Linked DNA regions of Homo sapiens: region 1 is linked to region 2. Evidence: promoter capture Hi-C in human tissues and cell types (Jung and others, 2019). All regions are on one chromosome and are shown on one strand. The core of a region is centred on a gene start or on the middle of the fragment in contact, and the rest is flanking DNA. Distances in the headings are between cores, read along the strand shown.

What was found. Contacts are between HindIII fragments. The study calls those that stand out against the background at their distance.
Region 1: a fragment that was not itself captured here is called in contact with the fragment with the promoter of COL1A2 in region 2 in 1 of the 25 tissues and cell types used here (spleen).

What each region holds. Positions count from the first base shown.
Region 1 is chr7:94,117,741-94,121,963 of GRCh38, forward strand. No RefSeq gene overlaps it. Among named protein-coding and RNA genes, the nearest start is that of BET1, 120 kb to the left of the region's middle. The HindIII fragment of the contact is 8,090 bases long and covers 1-4,223 here.
Region 2 is chr7:94,393,552-94,397,299 of GRCh38, forward strand. It overlaps COL1A2 (collagen type I alpha 2 chain), which reads left to right and starts at 1,344. Exons shown (of 52, transcript NM_000089.4): 1 at 1,344-1,550. The coding sequence starts at 1,481. The HindIII fragment of the contact is 19,147 bases long and covers 1-2,738 here.

The sequences.
Region 1 (4,223 bases), core at 1,458-3,957, 270 kb before region 2:
ATGAACACTGATACTAAATATGGTATCTAATATGATACTAAAATATGGTATCTGCCAGCAATAGAATACAATGCAGCAGTCAGAACTAATTCATTAGATATTCATATAGCATCATGAATAGATCTTAATAACTAAATGTTGATTTTAAAAAGCAATAAAGAGTATGAAAGCCATTGTACAATGTCAGGTATATATCCCCATCCTAACACTGTATATTTTTCAAAGGTACACATACCTGTCAAAGGCCCTTCATTAAATAAATAAGAATGGTTTCCAAAGAGCAAGCAAAAAATGGGGTTGGGGATAGGAAATTAAGGCAGAAGAATAAAATAATAAAAACAGGAGCTTTGCAATACAGTGAGAATTTAATCATATGAATTTTTGCCCCTGTGATTTTTAAACATAAAAATTTTTATAACAAACCCTAAAGAAAGAAGGGACTAAAATGAGCAGATTACATTCAGAACACTTTGTAAGGAAACAAACTTTTAAGCACAGCTTTGGAGTCACAGAGACTGGTTTGAGAAAAGATGAACTAGGAAAGAACACATCATGGCCAAGGCTTAGAAGCAGGGACAGGAGAAGGATGTGTAAGAATTATATAGGGCTTATTGTGACAGAAATTTAATGAAAGCCTGACAGGCTGTGACAATAGATGAAAGAATAAGGCAGAGGCTCTTGTAATCTCTGATTGGGGCTTTTATTAGGATCTTTCTATAGTTTGGGAGTCCTTTAAGTCTTGCTGGAGACATTTGAACAGAGTGTAAAATGAGTCCTGTGGAAGAGGAGCTCTTGAACGCCTATGTGTTGATCCACTGTCCTTCAGAAATCACACTGATCAGAGTTTCTGTGACACTTTATTGGTCTGAGAAACTCATATAAGTTTACTGAGAGTATTAGGAATTATTCTTCCCCTAAAGTACAAAACAAACAAATGCCAAAAACTAAAGAAAGAAAAGGAAAGAAAGAAAGAAAGAAAGAAAGAAAGAAAGAAAGAAAGAAAGAAGGAAAGAAAGAAAGAAAGAAAGAAAAAGAAAGAAGGAAAGAAAGAGAACAAATGAATGAAAGAGAGAAAGAGAGAACAAAGAAATGAAAGAAGAGAGAAAGAGAGAAAGAAAGAAAGAAAGAAAAGAAAGAAAGAAAGAAAGAAAGAAAGAAAAAGAAAAAGCAAGCAAGCAATAAAAACAACTTTTGTTGGTGTTGCAGCTCATACTGAGAGAAATTAATGAAGGAGCAGGAATTGGAAATAGACTATACATGGTTTTCTGTTTTCTCATCTCAGTGTCATCTATCACAGCCTCTGAAATTATTAACTCCTTTCTTTAACATCTTAAACACCTTTTATTTAAATCAAAAACTCTCTTTATTAGAAGAGCTGATTTATCCTGTTTAAAAAAAAACATATTTTAATCACTGTTGAAGAAACTGTAAATTGCCAGGGCAAATTACGAAGGGCAATTTGACAGTGTATATGGTTTTAAAATGTTAATGTTTTAATGCAATAATTTAACCCTCAGGAATTTTTCTAATTCGAATTTCTAAAGGAATAATCAAATATGCACAAAAACATTCACCGTAATGTGATTGTAATAGCAAAAAATAAGAAATAGCTAAATGAGTAATAACAAAGCATTAAAGAAATTATGGCAATTTTGTTTAATAGAATGTCATTTAGTCACAAAAGCACATGTTTAAAAATATTTAGTAACATGGGAGAAACACTACAAATATGTGAGGAAGCAAGTTATAAAAATATACCAAGATTGGGAAATATATTTAAATATAAACAGTTTTTATCTCTGAGTGTGAAACTACATCAAAATAACTTCTGTTTCTTTCTCTTCCAATTTATCCTAAGTGACCACGTGCTGCTATTATAAAACAAAATAAATATGTACTATATATAGTATTATAGAACTATAATACTATATTGAATAAATAAGTTAAATGTTGTTGAAACTGGCAATTTAAGTAATTCATAATCACTCCTTTTATCTGTTAAAATGTATGTTTCAATTCCTCTAAGCAATCTTCAAGAATGGAAAATTTTGATATACATTCAACCATATTTTGGAAATTCTCCAGCAGTGTTTGAGGTAAATATCCCACCTGGATATAGGGGATTTGGTTAATAGAAACTGGGCAAATTAATAGAGGATTTCACACCCTGAGAGAATTAAAGGATATTTAAAAGGCAACAAAAGCTACGTTTCTGCAAAACAAAGTCAAGTACCTTGTTCAAAAGGGCATTTACTCTAATTCATACCCAAGCCTTGGGATAGATTCACATTCTCATTCACTGCTCCCAGTATCTAGGGCACTTTCCAAACACCAGGGGTGCCATGGTGGTGTGTGTAATAATAGATAGCAAAACGAAGATGGAGCTCACTCCGGAAATTATGAGGGGAATTCAGCAAAATAAATAAAGGCTATGAAGGCAATGACCATAACCTATTAAATGCTGGTCACCTCCTGTTTTCTCCTCCTATCACTCCCCTGAGGTTCTTAACAAAGTACTTCCGACAACAGGTAATATTACATTCAGCCGTGTAACCAACTGCAGAATTTCTGATTAGCAGGGATCACAGTATGTTTTCATTTGCAAGAACCAATCCTTTAATCCTCAACACAGAAAATGAGGCACACACTATGACAGACCCAGATCAGAGTGACAACTTTTCTTGCTTATAAATAAATAGCAGGGAAATCTAGCTTGATTTCAAGAGATCGTGCTTTGAGGCTCAGTATTGCAGCTGGACCATGAAGGTGCTGAGAAGAACGAACTCTCAATTCTTTCCCCTGAGTGTTTCCCGGGTGAAATGTGTGGATTCCTGGGTTGCTCAAAGAGTGTATGAATGAAAGAGAAAGTATTGCCCATTGTTTGCTCCATCAGAACCATGGACTTGCCTCTCCCAGGACTGGGATTAATCACTGTGCCCCTTTATAAGAAGCATGCTTCAGGAAATGAGCAGAGCATGAAATGGAGTAGCTGGAAAATGGTCTAACCTCAAGGTACCAACAGATCAAATAAATATTCTCTGTCCCCAAACAAAAGGAACAATATTTTCCCTCATTCTTCCTCGGCCATTACCAGTCAGAAATCATGGGACTGGGGTTGGATTGCTTCGTGATCTGTCGAAAGAAACTAAAAATAAAATCATTCCACATTATGGGAACACTTGAGTTGCATTTTCATACAACTTTCCCAAATTGCAAGACTTCTGCCATGTAAGAAACACTTACTAATTTACCAAGGCCTCAGAGGCCTGGAATGCATAATGGCCCATTCAAACCAGAAGTCAACATTTAGATTGGTGGTTCAAGTAAGTGCCAACTCAGACTAGAAGGCATAATATCTTCCATCATAAAGGCCATAAAAAGTCATATACATTGCTCATAAATATGAGATGGACCAAGATTGACTCTGAGGTCTAAAAGCTATGATCTCTTGCAATTTGTTTTTCACTTTTAGTAAATAAAAATACAATGTATACTAGGTGAACAGAGTATACAGCCTCTAAAATGCCATCTTTATTTTTTTCAACATTGTCTTGGCATACTTTTATAGTTCGGTTTGAACATCATCCAGTGTACAGAAACTGAAATGGATTAAGGTCTGACAAATAGGAAGCTAGAGGGGGAATAAAAGAATCGCCCTGAACAAGAAAAATAATCAAAGACACAGAGGGTGGGAAAAGGATCTGTTTTCTATCTCCAGTGGAATCAGATAAAGAGAAAAGAGTTTAACTGGCAAAAGAAAAGTTTAATTTAGACATCTTGAAGATCCTCCTGTTCCGTCAGCTGCCGAGAATATCCAACTTTTAATAGGAGCTAAATGCTTTAGCTGCAACACAGGTATGAATTCCACCATCACAAATTCGTGTCAGCAGAAAATGTGATTTTCTTTATAGCCGTAATTGTCAGATCTCTGATCCGAGCTCCCAACCTACTTCAGGCAAGCAACTTAATAGTGTCATTTCTGATTATTTTTCATTCTAATGCAGTGATTTGTTGGTCAGTTCATACCTAGAGGGTCAGAAATCCTGTGGTTCAGTCTTCCTTTCAGGGTTTCTCTCTGTCTCCTGCCATGCAAAAGCCTACAGGGACAAGAGCAGATGAAGTATCTCACATACTCTGCACCTTTCCTTTGGTCCAAACAACACCTCTGCTCCTTCCTCCAGGTCCTGGCTTGGTCTTCAGCCTCCTAGAATTTCTCCCTATCC
Region 2 (3,748 bases), core at 94-2,593:
CTTTAGAAAAAGGCACAGGACCTTTGGCCTCCCACCTCAGGGTCAAAGTACCAGTTCCTCCTCTCCCTAGTAGGGAGTGGAGGGTTGGATGGAGGCGGCCAGAGAAGAGGGAAGTTGGGTGCTGGGGAGAGAGTTAACATCCACGTTGGTGGGCGCACTGCTTGGGGTGTTACCAGCGAAGACTACGAAGACCCCAAGCTCGAATCAGAAGGGCCTCTGGATGTGCTAGGGGAGGTGCTTGGGTGTGGCTGTAAGAGATGGGACAGAGAGTAAGCAGCAAGGTCAAGAGGGACCGGGGGGCTCACGGGAGGGTTGAAGGGTCCAGGCTCAGGGTAGAACTGGTAAATCCAGACAAGGAGCCCATGGAGAAGGGGAGGGGAGACTGGAAACCATGAAAGATCCCCCACCGCAGCCTCAGAAAGGAGAGACTGAGAAATAAGTTCTCGGTCTCCAGGTCGGTTGGAGTCGTGTCGGAGTGCCAGACCATCCCCCAAAAGACCCTCTTTGGAATGAGCCTCAGCAAAGGCAAGCTAGGAGGTCGAAGGACTTCCCCAGGTGACTCGGTCTAGTCTAGAGTTCGCAAAGCCTATCCTCCCTGTAGCCGGGTGCCAAGCAGCCTCGAGCCTGCTCCCCAGCCCACCTGCCAACAAAAGGCGCCCTCCGACTGCAACCCAGCCCTCCACAGACAGGACCCGCCCTTTCCCGAAGTCATAAGACAAAGAGAGTGCATCACTGCTGAAACAGTGGGCGCACACGAGCCCCAAAGCTAGAGAAAAGCTGGACGGGGCTGGGGGCGGGGTGCAGGGGTGGAGGGGCGGGGAGGCGGGCTCCGGCTGCGCCACGCTATCGAGTCTTCCCTCCCTCCTTCTCTGCCCCCTCCGCTCCCGCTGGAGCCCTCCACCCTACAAGTGGCCTACAGGGCACAGGTGAGGCGGGACTGGACAGCTCCTGCTTTGATCGCCGGAGATCTGCAAATTCTGCCCATGTCGGGGCTGCAGAGCACTCCGACGTGTCCCATAGTGTTTCCAAACTTGGAAAGGGCGGGGGAGGGCGGGAGGATGCGGAGGGCGGAGGTATGCAGACAACGAGTCAGAGTTTCCCCTTGAAAGCCTCAAAAGTGTCCACGTCCTCAAAAAGAATGGAACCAATTTAAGAAGCCAGCCCCGTGGCCACGTCCCTTCCCCCATTCGCTCCCTCCTCTGCGCCCCCGCAGGCTCCTCCCAGCTGTGGCTGCCCGGGCCCCCAGCCCCAGCCCTCCCATTGGTGGAGGCCCTTTTGGAGGCACCCTAGGGCCAGGGAAACTTTTGCCGTATAAATAGGGCAGATCCGGGCTTTATTATTTTAGCACCACGGCAGCAGGAGGTTTCGGCTAAGTTGGAGGTACTGGCCACGACTGCATGCCCGCGCCCGCCAGGTGATACCTCCGCCGGTGACCCAGGGGCTCTGCGACACAAGGAGTCTGCATGTCTAAGTGCTAGACATGCTCAGCTTTGTGGATACGCGGACTTTGTTGCTGCTTGCAGTAACCTTATGCCTAGCAACATGCCAATGTAAGTGCCTTCAGCTTGTTTGGGGGAGACTGGGTAGAGAGGTTAGATGGGAGGGCACCCTGCCCTGAAAAGGAAAACCTGTAACCTGAATTCCAGGTACACTTGGAGGGCAGACTCTCAGGCATGTGGGAAAACGCCGGAATTGATAAGAAACATGGAAATTACTTTAAAAAATGAAAACATAAAAGCCTTGCCAAAAGTTAGGGAACTTTTCCTCTAAGTTCAGAGTGAGACAGTTAACTCGGTCTGGCTCCTCAGCTTAGTAACCCCCAAAGGGAGCGGAAGGTCTTTTTCCCTAAGGATGAGATATTAACGACCAATGTGGTGGAGGAAGTCAAGGGCCTGCACCCCACAGGCCCCATAACCGCACTGATGTCCACCTTGTAAAACTTGAGGCCTGCGTTAGAAAGCCCTTCAACTGAGTAATGTAAAACTCACCTCCTAAGAGCTTTTATCTTCTGGGCATTGTAAGGCTTGTCCGGAGGAGGAGGATGACGATGCTGATATGATGATGGTTATAAGGCGCCCTCTGGAGGAAGGAAAATGAAAGTACAGGGGACAGGGCCTTAAGCAGATGGAATCCCAATTAAAGCTTCTACGGATTTATACAGATTAATGATCAGCATTTCTGGTTGGAGCCTTTCCCAGTGGCTAGTCAGTGAACCCTGGAAAGAAGAATGGATGCTACTTGGAGTGGGTACATTCTGAAAAGTAATATAAGTGTCTCAATTCACTTTCTAGTCATGGAAATGGTAACATTTTTTAACTCAAATCTGCTCTAAATTTTGTTTGAGCCTGAGAATTACCCCTTTGACATGTTCCCAGTGATAAGCAAACATTATGAACGCAGCAAGTTGAGAAATATCAACATTGAGATGAGACTCAAGAGACCGGGGTTTTTCCCATGAGTCTGACACCAATTTGCTGCGTGACTTTGGGCAAGTCAAACGGCCTTTTCTAAAATGTGAGACAGAGATTAAAGGGACCCCAAGGCCACTTTCCAGCTCTAGGTTCCATGGCCAGACTTTCATGTCAACAGAGAATGAAGAAGATCAGTCCGTTTTCATCTTGAAAATGGCTGCCAAAGTGCTAGACAAAGATATTGACTAGATGGGGGATGGTATTGTCTGACCACACCCAGTACTCCAAAAAGTTGTTCCACCCACACAGCACGGTGTCTACCACTGCATAATTTCTAATGCATTTGTGTGCTTGTGTGTGTGTGTGTGTGTGTGTGTGTGTCTGTGTGTCTGTGTGTCTCTTCCCCCTTCATTCACTTTTAGTATACATACTGTGGATACTAAGGAGTAATTGCAGTGAACAAATTCACATTACCGAGTTCATATTTTTAATGAGATCTTGAGAGTGGGAGGAAAGAGTCGGCTCCTAGAGAATAAAATGAAGGCAGACTTAGGGAAATTTGAAGGTACAAAGGCAACTTACCTTCTGATCAACAGCCAACCACAGTCTGGAATAAATGTTATCAAACACACATTCTTCAAAATGGTCCATGTCTGAGTAATTAAAAGGCAAATTTCCAAAATCATAAGGACTTCCGTTAATCAAGTCAGGCATAATTATTCTTCCTACTGATGGACACAATGAAGTAAACATATCATTCTTGTAATTTAACAGTAATTCTCGTAAATTGCCCTTAAATGTCAGTGCTGGATGTGGTCCACCCTCCTAAATTGTGACTGTTGCAACAGATGTTCTCACTTCAAATAACGCACTTCTTGGCCACCTAATTAAAGCAATTTTTGGGGTGATTCATCCTACTGCAAGCTTGGCCACACTTGTATCCTGTATTAACCTATAATTTTTGTACCGTAGGAGAAGAATTCACTCTTTAAGGACTTATAACAATTATGGCAAAAGGGGGGATAGTACTTTTGTTTATTTTTTCTATTATTTTTCAAGATCTTTAATCCGGTTTTTCCATTTATACAAAACTCTTTCTCCGAGACAAAAATGATACATATTGGTAAAATGATCTTACCTAATTTAAGTGAACTAATTTAAAGCAAAATTCAGATGTCTGAATTAATCCATTTTCATAGTTAATAATGTGCAAATTAGACCTTTTGAAAAAGGATATTAAGAATGGTACAAACTCAATGAAGTACTAGGTAACTTCAATGTTTTATAAAAAAGTAAGTCAGCTTCAATGTTTCATAAAAAACAAATTCAATATAGAA